Regions from separate parts of the Homo sapiens genome. Here all the other regions are linked to region 2. Evidence: promoter capture Hi-C in human tissues and cell types (Jung and others, 2019). All regions are on one chromosome and are shown on one strand. Each heading gives the region's core, a stretch centred on a gene start or on the middle of the fragment in contact. The rest is flanking DNA. Distances are from core to core; before and after follow the strand shown. Region 1 overlaps LINC02166 (long intergenic non-protein coding RNA 2166). Region 2 holds the start of TUBB3 (tubulin beta 3 class III). Region 3 overlaps FANCA (FA complementation group A).

Region 1 (3,198 bases), core at 114-2,613, 240 kb after region 2:
GTCACTTGGTCCAGGGATGTGGCTTCAGCAAGCATTTGGGTGCCTCCTCTGTGTTCAGGACATGGGGACTCCAGGAGACTGAAGGAAGCAAGTGGCAATGTCCATGCTGTCAAGTTCTGTCACAGAAATAAGCAGGAGTGAGTGAAAGACAGGAGAGAAGCTCTGTGAGGGGTGGCATTCAAGCTTAGCTTCTGGGCAGGAAGAGGCAGCTATGTCAGCATTCCCTAACAAGGTTTGGCAAAGTAGATACCTCCCCTCACTCATGGAAGACCTGACTTCCCAGGCTGGTAGAAGCTTCTCTCACAGGCACCTGCCTCTCCAATCTCTTTCACAGCCCAGCCCTGGAAGGTGGAAAAAGAAAAGTTGACATGGAATGTTTAGGAAGCACCATTGGTCCAGGTCCAGGATCGGGGCAGCCAGCATGTCCTCTAATCTGGCTTCACTGTTGAAATCCAGTCGAGCAAGCAGGGCCCAAACCACTGCGAGACCAGCTCGGTCGGGCCCAAACCACCGCCCACTGCGAGACCAGCTCGGTCGGGCCCAAACCACCGCCCACTGCGGGACCAGCTCGGTCGGGCCCAAACCACCGCCCACTGCGGGACCAGCTCGGTCGGGCCCAAACCACTGCCCACTGCGGGACCAGCTCGGTCGTGGAGACCCTAACCCAGCGGCGCTAGAGGAATTAAAGAAACACACACAGAAATATAGGGTGTGGAGTGGGAAATCAGGGGTCTCACAGCCTTCGAAGCTGAAAGCCTCGAACAGAGATTTACCCACATATTTATTGACAGCAAGCCAGTGATAAGCATTGTTTCTATAGATTATAGATTAAAAGCACTTCTTACGGGAAATAAAGGGATGGGTCTGGCTAGTTATCTGCAGCAGGAGCACGTCCTTAAGGCACAGATCGCTCATGCTATTGTTTGTGGTTCAGGAACTCCTTTAAGCGGTTTTCCGCCCTGGGTGGGCCAGGTGTTCCTTGCCCTCATTCCAGTGTGGGAGTCATGGCCATCATGAGCATGTCACAGTGCAGCAGAGATTTTGTTTATGGCCAGTTTTGCGGCCAGTTGATGGCCAGATTTGGGGGCCTCTTCCCAACAGCCCACAGCCAGACCTAGACTCCATTCAGATTGGTTTTGATCAGCATGTAGAAAATGGGGGAGTTGAGTGTGGTATACAAAATGGGGGTGTTGGCCAGGCGTGGTGGCTCATGCCTGTAATCCCAGCACTTTGGGAGTCTGAGGCGGGTCGATCACGAGGTCAGGAGATAGAGACCATCCTGGCTAACACAGTGAAACCCCATCTCCACTAAAAAATACAAAAAATTAGGCAGGCATGGTGGCGGGTGCCTGTAGTTGCAGCTACTCGGGAGGCTGAGGCAGGAGAATGGTGTGAACCCACGGGGCGGAGCTTGCAGTGAGCCAAGATCACACCACTACACTCCAGCCTGGGTGACAGAGTGAGACTCTGTCTCAAAAAAAAAAACAAAAAAAAAAGAAAATGCAGGTGTTGTGACCAGGCACAGTGGCTCATGCCTATAATCCCAACACTTTGGGAGGCCGAGGTAGGCAGATCACTTGAGGTCAGGAGTTCGAGACCAGCCTGGCCAACATGGTGAAACCCCGTCTCTACTAAAACTAACAAAATTAGCTGGGTGTGGTGGTGGTTGCCTGTAGTCCCAGGTACTCGGGAGGCTGAGGCAGGAGAATCGCTTGAACCCGGAAGGCGGAGGTTGCAGTGAGCCAAAATCGTGCCACTGCACTCCAGCCTGGGTAACAGAGTGAGACTTTGTGAAAGGAAGGAAGGAAGGGAGGGAGGGAGGAAAATAGAGGGAAGAAGAAAGAAAGAAAACAAAGAGCACGTGGAGAGAACAATCCTAGAAAACTGACGTAGGCTGTGTTCCTCTGAAGTCCATACACAGCAGGCAGGCGTGAAAGTGGTTTATGTATATAAATAGGTACCATTATTCTCTTCTGAGGTTTAAGTTGTCTAGCTTTCGTTCGCAGAGCTTTAAGAAAAGCACGGCTTTGGCCCGGCGCAGTGGCTCATGCCTATAATCCCAGCACTTTGGGAGGCCGAGGCCGGTGGATCATGAGGTCAGGAGTTCGAGACTAGCCTGGCCAACATGGTGAAACGCATCTCTACTAAAAATACAAAAAAATGAGCTGGCCATAGTGGTGCACACCAATAATCCCAGCTACTCGGGAGGCTGAGGCACGAGAATCACTTGAACCCAGGAGGCAGAGGTTGCAGTGAACTGATACCACACCACTGCCCGGGTGACAGAGTGAGACCCTGTCTGAAAAAACAAATAAACAAACAAAAAAAGAGAAAATAATAAAAGTTGAAAAACCTTAGGCAAGGCTAGAATCTAATAACAGGTATACTATAGTTTATTTTGAAACATAATTTTTCTCTCTCTAGTCTCCTATTTTTACCAAAGTGAAATCAGGTAGTACTGATTTGTTTTCAAAATAAGTTTTAGTCTTATTGTACTTGGCCTGGTTATTTGTATAAACTGTAGCAAGAATAAATATTTACCATGTAGGCTTTTTTTTTTTTTTTTTTTTTTGAGACGGAGTCTTGCTCTGTCGCCCAGGCTGGAGTGCAGTGGTGCGACCTCGGCTCACTGCAAGCTCCGCCTCCCAGGTTCACGCCATTCTCCTGCCTTAACCTCCCAAGTAGCTGGGACTACAGACGCCCGCCACCACGCCCGGCTAATTTTTTGTGTATTTTTAGTAGAGACGGGGTTTCACTGTGTTGACAAGGATGGTTGCAATCTCCTGACTTCGTGATCTGCCCGCCTTGGCCTCCCAAAGTGCTGGGATTACAGGCGTGAGCCACCGAGCCCGGCCACAAAAATTGTATCATTGAGAAAATTATGCCAATTGGGGAAGATCTGATGTAGCCAAACCCCCTTTGACCTTTAGCCTTCAAGCTGCCTTCAGTTATTCTTGGGCTAGCTTTGGGAGATGTTTATAGTTTACATGATAATAGCCCCTCCCCAAAACTCAACTGTATTTGTAAAACTAATGAGGGGCCACCAGGCTAGGGAGAGGAGAGGAGCCTGAATTTGGCTAAGATGTAGACATAAACAATTATCAGCCATTATTCCAGAGGTCCTGCAGATAACAATGCTATTGTAACCTAAGATTGGCCTTTTGCAGTACCTCGCAAGGGTTTTTTGCATGTCTGATA
Region 2 (3,919 bases), core at 1-2,500:
CTGCCTTTCTCTGGCCCCTTCCCCTCCAGGACCGTCTCCTGCACCCCCTCCTTCCCAGAATCAGCGCTGCACCAGCCCTGAGCTGGGTCCCTGGCCTTGGTCCTGACAAAGCCAGCCTCCCCCCCCGATCCCCTGTTCCCCAACACTGTTCGGAGGGCAGATCCTTTGGCAAGCAGCGCCCCCAACCCGCCCCGCCCGAGCCCCAGGTTGGCTCCTGCAGGGGATGAGAACCAAGGGCCAGCCCAGCTCTCTCGCACCTGCTGTGTGACCTTGGGCCAGGGACAGCCTCCCAGGACCAGGGGACACGACGTCCCCTTAATGATTTAGGCAGGGGTCCCTGCACAGCTGCACCAACGCCCCTTTCTGCGTGGCCCCAACATCTGCGAGGTGGGCTAACAATGGAGGGAGGGGCGCGCCACGGTGCAGCCTCCACACCCCACAGCCCGGCTTTGTTCCCACATCCAATCCCCAGACTGGTAGACCCTGGGTGGGCGCGGTCAAGCCCCGCGGGGGTTGCCCAGGAGCGGCTGCGCCGATGGAGAGCCTGGTCCTGGACCAAGGTCATCTCGAGTCCAGGCCCAACCCCTCCAACAAAGGGACAGGGTGGAGCTAGGACGCCGAGGGGTGTCGGAGCAGGCTGGGGAAATCGGGGCGGCTCTAGCCTCTCGGGGGACGTTCGGCTACTCCAGTGGGGGGTTCGGGCCGAGGAAATCACGGCTGTGAGGAGAACCCCCCACCCCACCCAAACCTGCCTACCCCACCCGTCTCACTCAAGGCTATGCCGCGGCCCCAAAAAAGAGGGCCACGCCCAGACAGGGCTCCCAGCTGCACCTGCGGAGGCCCGGTGGAGGGGGTGCAGGTGTGGAGGGGGCGCAGGTGTGGAGGGGGCTGAGGCTTCGCGACTGACGTGAGCTGCGCCTCGACAGCCCGAGGTCACCTGGGCAGGGGCAGAGAGGTGCAGGCGAGAGTCCCAGGGCGGGGGCCCCGCGTCCCGGCCGCCCGGCGCGGCGCTGGGCGCATCCCTTTGTTGCAGGTTCGCAGGGGCGGGGGCAGCTGGAGGTGCGGCCCGCGGGGCACGGCGCCTCCCTCCTCCCGCCCCGGGGCCCGGGACAGGCCGGGGCGCGCAGCCTCACCTTGGCCCCGATCTGGTTGCCGCACTGGCCGGCCTGGATGTGCACGATCTCCCTCATACTGGGCGCGTCTGGCGGGCGGCTGCGGACGGGCGCGGGCGGGCCGGGCTGGCTGCTGAGGGTCGGGGACCGCGGCCGCGCGCTCTTATAGCCGCGGCCCCGCCCTTCGCATCGGCTGATGTCACCGCGGGTGGCCAATCGGGAGGCGCCGCCGCAGAGCCCCGCCCGGCCCGCAGGCTCCGCACCGCGCGTCCCCGCCCGCCGCGCGCAATGCGGCGCCCCTCCCGCAGCCAAGGATCCCCCAGCGCTGGGCCGGGCGCGGTCTGAGGGCCCCGCGCATTCGAAAGGAGGGGCTGTCTCCCAGAGGAGCTGGCTGTGGGGGCGCCGGGCTCCAGGGAGGACAATGGCCCCTCTTGGCCCTGGGAACCCCGCCCCCAGCTACCCTCTCGGTTCCGCCCTTGCGACAGCCCCACCCTGCGGCTTTGTACGGAGGGTCTTTTTTCCCCACGCCGGTTTAGAGACCAACCCGCACCATCCCAGCTCCCTGTCTTTTGGCAGACAAGGTGCTCTGAGCTTTTGCCGGTTTTGGGTGGGGGAGGTAGGTAAAGGCTGGCCCAGGCCCTGAACCCACTGAGAAGAAACAAAGCGTCGGATCAGAGCTCGGAAGGGCGCGAACACAGAGGGGTGGCGGCGGCCGAGAGCGAGCTCCGTGGGTCGCCGGCTTCCGCAGTGGGCGGGGAGGGGGTGGGCACCCGACCTCCTCCACCAAGGGGCTGCCATGAGCGTCCAAAGGAGCTTTGTGGGCCCGGGCGCGCACAGCACCTGGACGTGCCACTGCCCGGTGCGCATCCGTGTCAGGAATTGTCACAAGGACGCACAAGCCAGGCAAGAACCCGGCCAGGGTGGGGGAGGGTGGGCAGCGGCTTCTATCTGACTCACTCTCTGAGGTCGGAGACTGCGTGCAGGGGGGCCTCGGGGGAGCGACTGGAGATGCGTTTACTGGTCAGAGAAGGAAGGGAGCAAAGGACTCGCCGGCACGGCACTGACCTCCTCCTGGGCCAGATATTACAGTGCCACCACCTTAGAACAAGGGCCTTCTGATACTTCAGTAACAAAAATCCTTCAGGAAGGGTCTGACAGTGCACGATGTACAGACGAACCCCACCCGGCCCCCAAATCAGCATTCACTTCACAAAATGAGCAGCTGCGAACTTGCCTGTGGACGCCTGTGTCCGGTCTGTGTGCACAGGGCTGTGTGTGGGTGGCGTGGACCTGTACCTGTCTCTCTCTTTTCTCTCAAGAAGCTCTCCAGTTTGGAAAGTCGAGAAATGGATCTTTTGTTCTCAAGAGATGCCCCTCCCTGCCCCACAGTGTGCTCGTGTGGCTGCTGCTGGGGTCTAGCTGCCTGGGGTTCCTCCCTGTCCCTGTTCAAGGGAGTCCGGGGTGAGTGTCTGAGGTGCCTCCCTGTCTCCACGAGGGAAGAAGTTTTGCAGCCTCAGGGCAGCCAGCTCCTGCTCCATCCTCAGAGGGGTCTGGTGCCGGGCTTAAGGCTGACTCACCGTCCGGTCTCCCAGCAGAGGCGGGCCCTGCCAGGAAGCAGCTCCCAGTTCTGAGGCCGGCAGTCAGGGGTGGGGCTGGCCAGGGGGCTGCTGACTGAGCCTGCGTAGGAGTCGGCTGATGGCCCTGCAGCCTCCATTGAGCCTGTCCCAGGAAGGGGGCTGACTGAGTGCTCAGTCTCTGCAGAGGAAATGGAGGTGGTCTCTTCAGCGAGACGCCCAGGTTTCAGCAGAGGGATGGCCCAGGGGCGCCACTGCTCCCCAGCACCAGGCAGCATAGTTCATCCCCAGGTACTCACTCCCAGGGACTTCTCCGCCGGCTGGGCCTCTGCCTCACTGCCATCTTCAGAAGCCTCACATCAAGCATTTCCCAGGACTGGCTGAACACAGACCCTCCACCCCCGACCCCTTCCCCACCTGCCTACTCCCAGAATGGCAGTGCTGGGCAGACAGCAGACCCAGCCCCCAGCCCACCTGCACTGAGCCCCCTTCCAGGCATCTCAGAGTGGACAGGGATGGTCCCATTCACGGCTCATCATGGCTGGAGGGACTCAGGGCCAGGGCCAGCAAAGGGATGTGTCCCGGCTGAGGTCACATGTGGTCACAGGGAAGGCTGGGAACCCGCCTCTTCTGCAGCTAGGACAGCGTCAAGAGTGGAGGGGACTGGGGCCCTGCTGCACCTGCTCGTCCTTCCTCTAGGCTGGGGTTTGTCAGCACGGAGAGAAAACCGAGAAGCAGGGTCAGCGCAAGCCTGGTTGGGACCTCCACACTCCCCAGGCATTTGGGGCCTCTGGGGCTGTGGCTTCCTCACCTGGGGAGGCAGCCACGTTTTCCGGGACTCCTTTCTTCCCTCTCGACTCTCACCCCTGCCCACCTTCCCCTCCCCCATCCCTCCACCCGCAAACTTCAAGCACTTTCTGGAAGGGGCTAAGGTGGGTGATGCTGAGTCACATTTATTACCAGACTTTCCTGGCCCCATGCTCACAGGCACTGGTCACTGAGTCAGGCATTTGCCAGGGCTGTCTGCTTGGGCGACTGCTGCAGGAAAGCAGGCTGAGGCCCCAGTGCCCAGTCTGAGCCTTAGAACCGGCCCTCAGGAGGGCTCAGCCCCATACCACTAGGGGGGCTCCTGCAAACCTGGTCCCTTGGCCTGAGGCAGGGATTTCACCTCCTTTTGCAGGAGCCGCTGCAAGGCTGTGGATGAAGCTTTCTGGTCACAAAGCCCCTTCTCCT
Region 3 (4,184 bases), core at 1-2,500, 170 kb after region 2:
TGTTGAAAACACTTCTTTCCCCACTGAATGGTCTTGGCACCCTTGTCAAAAGTTAGATGGCTGCTCGTGTGAGGGTTTGTTTCTGGCTCTCATTGTGTTCCCTTGGTCTGTATGTCCATATGCACTGCGTCATTGGGATGAAGCTTTGTAGTAGGTTTTAAAATTGGGAAGTGTGAGGCCTCCAACTTGGTTCTTCTTTTTCAGGATGGTTTGGCTTTTCTAGGTGCTTTGTAGTTGTGTCTTAATTTTGGGATGAGCTTGTCAGTTTCGACAAAAGTAGCTGGGACCCTGATACGGACTGCATGTGGGGCAGTATTGCCATCTCAGTGATAGCGAGTCTTCTTTCCTTTTGAATCATTTGTTGCTAACGTATAGAAACACCAGTGATTCTTGTATATTCATTGGCTCTAGTCATTTATTAGTTCTAAGAGTGTTTTTGTATCGATTCCTTAGGGCTTTGTATATATAAGATCGTGTCTGGCCAGGCATGGTGGCTCATGCCTGTAATCCCAGCACTTTGGGAGGGTGAAGTGGGCGGATCATGAGGTCAGGAGTTGGAGACCAGCCTGGCCAACATGGTGAAACCCCATCTCTACTAAAAATACAAAAATTAGCCGGGCATCGTGGTGGGCTCCTGTAATCCGTTACTTGGGAGGCTGAGGCAGAAGAATCACTTGAACTCAGGAGGCAGAGGTTGCAGTGAGTTGAGATCATGCCACTGCAACTCCAGCCTGGGCGACAAGAGTGAAACTCAGTCTCAAAACAAAAAAACAAAAGAAAGATCATATAATATGTGAAGAGAGATAGTTTCACTTTTTCCTTTCCTATCTGGATGCTTTTTCTTTTTCTTGTTGAATTGCCCCGGCTTGAACTCCCCGGGCAGTGTTGTTTTTTTTGTTGTTGTTTTGTTTTGTTTTTTTTTTTCTGAGACGGAGTCTCGCTCTGTCACCCAGGCTGGAGTGCAGTGGTGCAATCTCGGCTTACCGAAACCTTCGCCTCTCAGGTTCAAGCGATTCTCCTGCCTCAGCCTCCCGAGTAGCTGGGATTACAGGCACCCGCCACCATGCCCAGCTAATTTTTGTTTGTTTGTTTTTGAGACAGAGTGTCGCTGTGTGTCCCAGGCTGGAGTACAGTGGCACTATCTCAGCTGTCTGCAACCTCCGCCTTCCAGGTTCAGGCAATTCTGCTGCCTCAGCCTCCCAATAGGTGGGATTACTGGCGTCCGCTAACACGCCCGTCTAATTTTTGTATTTTTAGTAGAGATAGGGTTTCGCCACATTGGCCAGGATGGTCTCGATCTCCTGACCTCAGATGATCTGCCTGCCTCGGCCTCCCAAAGTGCTGGGATTACAGGCGTGAGCCACCGTGTCTGTCCCCAGTGCAGTGTTGAGTAGAGGCAGCGACACTGTTCTGAGTGTAGAGAGGACATCCTTGTTGCCCCTGATCTTAGGAGAACAGCTTTCAGTCTTTCCTCATTAAATCTGACGTTTGCTGTGGGTTTTCATCCATGCCAGGCACTAGATTGAGAAGATTTCCTTTGTTCCTGGTTGATTGAGTGTTTTTATCACAAAAGGATGTCACATTTCGTCAAGTGCTTTTTCTACATCTATTGAGATAATCTTACGGTTTTTGCTTTTTATTTTATTGATAACTGCGTTATATTGGTTTGGGGATCTTAAGCTATCCTTGTGTAGGGACCAGCCCCGGAGGGTCGGTGGGTCTCTCCCTGTGTGCGGCGATGAGAGAGTGTAGAAATAAAGACACAAGACAGAGATAAGAGAAAAGGCAGCTGGGCCCGGGGGACCACTACCACCAATGCGCGGAGACCGGTAGTGGCCCCGAGTGTCGGGCTGCGCTGTTACTTATTGGATACAAGGCAGAAGGGGCAGGGTAAACAATGTGAGTCACCTCCAATGATAGGTAAGGTCACGTGGGTCACATGTCCACTGGACAGGGGGCCCGTCCCTGCCTGGCAGCTGAGGCAGAGAGGGAGAGGAGACAGAGAGAAAGACAGCTTACGCCATTATTTCTGCATATCAGGGACTATTAGTATTTTCACTAATTTGCTACTGCTATCTGGAAGGCAGAGCCAGGTGTACAGGATGGAACATGAAGGTGGACTAGGAGCATGACCACTGAAGCACAGCATCACAGGGAGACGGTGAGGCCTCCGGATAACTGCGGGCGAGTCTGACTGATGTCAGGCCCTCCACAAGAGGTGGAGGAGCAGAGTCTTCTCTAAACTCCCCGGGGGAAAGGGAGACTCCCTTTCCCGGTCTGCTAAGTAGTGGGTGTTGTTCCTTGACACCTTTTGCTACCGCTGGACCACGATCCGCTTGGTGACGGGCGTCTTCCCAGACGCTGGCATCACCGCTAGACCAAGGAGCCCTCTGGTGGCCCTGTCCGGGCACAACAGAAGGCTCGCACTCTTGTCTTCTGGTCACACCTCAGTATATCCCCTCAGCTCCTATCTCTGTATGGCCTGGTTTTTCCTAGGCTATGATTATTGAGTGAGGATTATCATAATATTGGAATAAAAAGTAATTGCTACCAACTAATGATTAATGATATTCATATGTAATCATATCTAAGATCTATATCTGGTATAACTATTCTTGTTTTATATTTTATTATACTGGAACAGCTCGTGTCCTCTGTCTCTTGCCTTGGTGCCTGGGTGGCTTGCCACCCACATCCTTGCATTCTTGGGATAAGCCTCCTTGGTCATGGTACATAATTTTTGTATTTCCTAGGTTGGGGTTGGTAGTATTTTGTGGCAGTTTTTGTTGTTTATTGTTGACTAATGTGAGGGTCACACTGTCAGAGAAGCACAGCCATCACTCAGCTCCGGAGGCAGGAGGAGAACTGGGAACTTCAGCACTATTAGGCGATACTGAGGAGGATTTTATTGTATTTTCATTTCAGCTCAAGGAGTTATGACCACTCAGAAAATTCTGATTTGGTCTTTGGTGGCCGCACAGGAAATGAGGATATTATTTCCAGATTGCAGGTGAGTTTGAGGGTGCCACAACTCAGTGCATTCACTTCATTTAAGCCGCGTGCTATTAAGATATTTATTGCCAGGCGCGGTGGCTCACGCCTGTAATCCCAGAACTTTGGGAGGCCGAGGCAGGCGGATCACACAGTCAGGAGATCGAGACCATGCTGGCTAACACGATGAGACCCCGTCTCTACTAAAAATACAAAAATTTAGCCGGGCGTGGTGGCGGGCACCTGTAGCCCCACCTACTCGGGAGGCTGAGGCAGGAGAATGGCATGAACCCAGGAGGCGGAGCTTGCAGTGAGCCGAGATTGTGCCACTGCACTCCAGCCTGGGCGGGCGACAGAGTGAGACTCCGTCTCAAAAAAAAAAAAAAGATATTTATTGTTGGCTCAGGCTTGTAATCCCAGTACTTTGGGAGTCCGAGGCTGGTGGATCACCTGAAGTCTATACAGGTAGGCAGCATGTACCTGTGTGGGTTCACTGTCAGTCAACAGGCATTTACTGGTGCTGGCCACCCGTGCGTCTTCTGTGCCAGGCCCCTGTCTCTCCCTCCGCCAGCTCTGGGGCCTCCCAACTCCTTAGCCAGATGCTTTCCCTAGACCCACCTGGCTCCTTCTCAGTGAGACCATCTGCTTTTTCCTCTTAATTGTAATCATAATTATTATTATTATTGGGACAGGGTCTTGCTCTGTCACCCAGGCTAGAGTACAGTGGTGCGATCATATCTCTCTGCAGCCTTGACTTCCTGGGCTCAAGCAATCCTGACAGCGTGCACCTGTGTGCGCCACCACACCCAGCTGATTTTTTGTAGAGACGGAGTTTTGCCATGTTGCCCAGGCTTGTCTCGAACTCCTGGGCCCAAGTGAACCACCCATCTCGGTCTCCAAAATTGTTGGATTACAGGCGTGAGCCACTGCACCTGATCTTTATTCTTCTTTAAAAAATACAGCCGGCCAGGCACGGTGGCTTATGCCTGTAATCCCAGCACTTTGGGAGGCTGAGGTGGCTAGATCACTTGAGGTCAGGGGCTCAAGACCAGTTTGGCCAACATGGTGAAACCCCATCTCTACTAAAAATACAAAACACTAGTCAAGCATGGTGGTGTGTACCTATAGTCCCAGCTACTCAGGAAGCTGACTTAGGAGAATCAGCTGAGCTCGAGAGTCAAGGCTGCCATAAG

What was found. Contacts are between HindIII fragments. The study calls those that stand out against the background at their distance.
Region 1: a fragment that was not itself captured here is called in contact with the fragment with the promoter of TUBB3 in region 2 in 3 of the 25 tissues and cell types used here (lymphoblastoid cells, small bowel and spleen).
Region 3: a contact is called between a fragment that was not itself captured here and the fragment with the promoter of TUBB3 in region 2, in 1 of the 25 tissues and cell types used here (dorsolateral prefrontal cortex).

The regions. Positions count from the first base shown.
Region 1 is chr16:89,682,812-89,686,009 of GRCh38, reverse strand. LINC02166 (long intergenic non-protein coding RNA 2166) reads left to right here. Exons shown (of 3, transcript NR_184152.1): 2 at 335-1,200; 3 at 2,834-3,198. Among named protein-coding and RNA genes, the nearest start is that of CDK10, 2.3 kb to the left of the region's middle. The HindIII fragment of the contact is 5,110 bases long and covers 1-3,198 here.
Region 2 is chr16:89,920,673-89,924,591 of GRCh38, reverse strand. TUBB3 (tubulin beta 3 class III) reads right to left here and starts at 1,250. Exons shown (of 4, transcript NM_006086.4): 1 at 1,134-1,250. The coding sequence starts at 1,190. MC1R (melanocortin 1 receptor) reads right to left here. Exons shown (of 1, transcript NM_002386.4): 1 at 3,620-3,919. RefSeq lists silencers at 994-1,243, 1,324-1,473, 1,494-1,583 and enhancers at 1,437-1,731, 1,654-2,537, 3,424-3,919. The HindIII fragment of the contact is 8,728 bases long and covers 404-3,919 here.
Region 3 is chr16:89,750,964-89,755,147 of GRCh38, reverse strand. FANCA (FA complementation group A) reads left to right here. Exons shown (of 43, transcript NM_000135.4): 31 at 2,926-3,010. Among named protein-coding and RNA genes, the nearest start is that of ZNF276, 32 kb to the right of the region's middle. The HindIII fragment of the contact is 5,421 bases long and covers 1-3,960 here.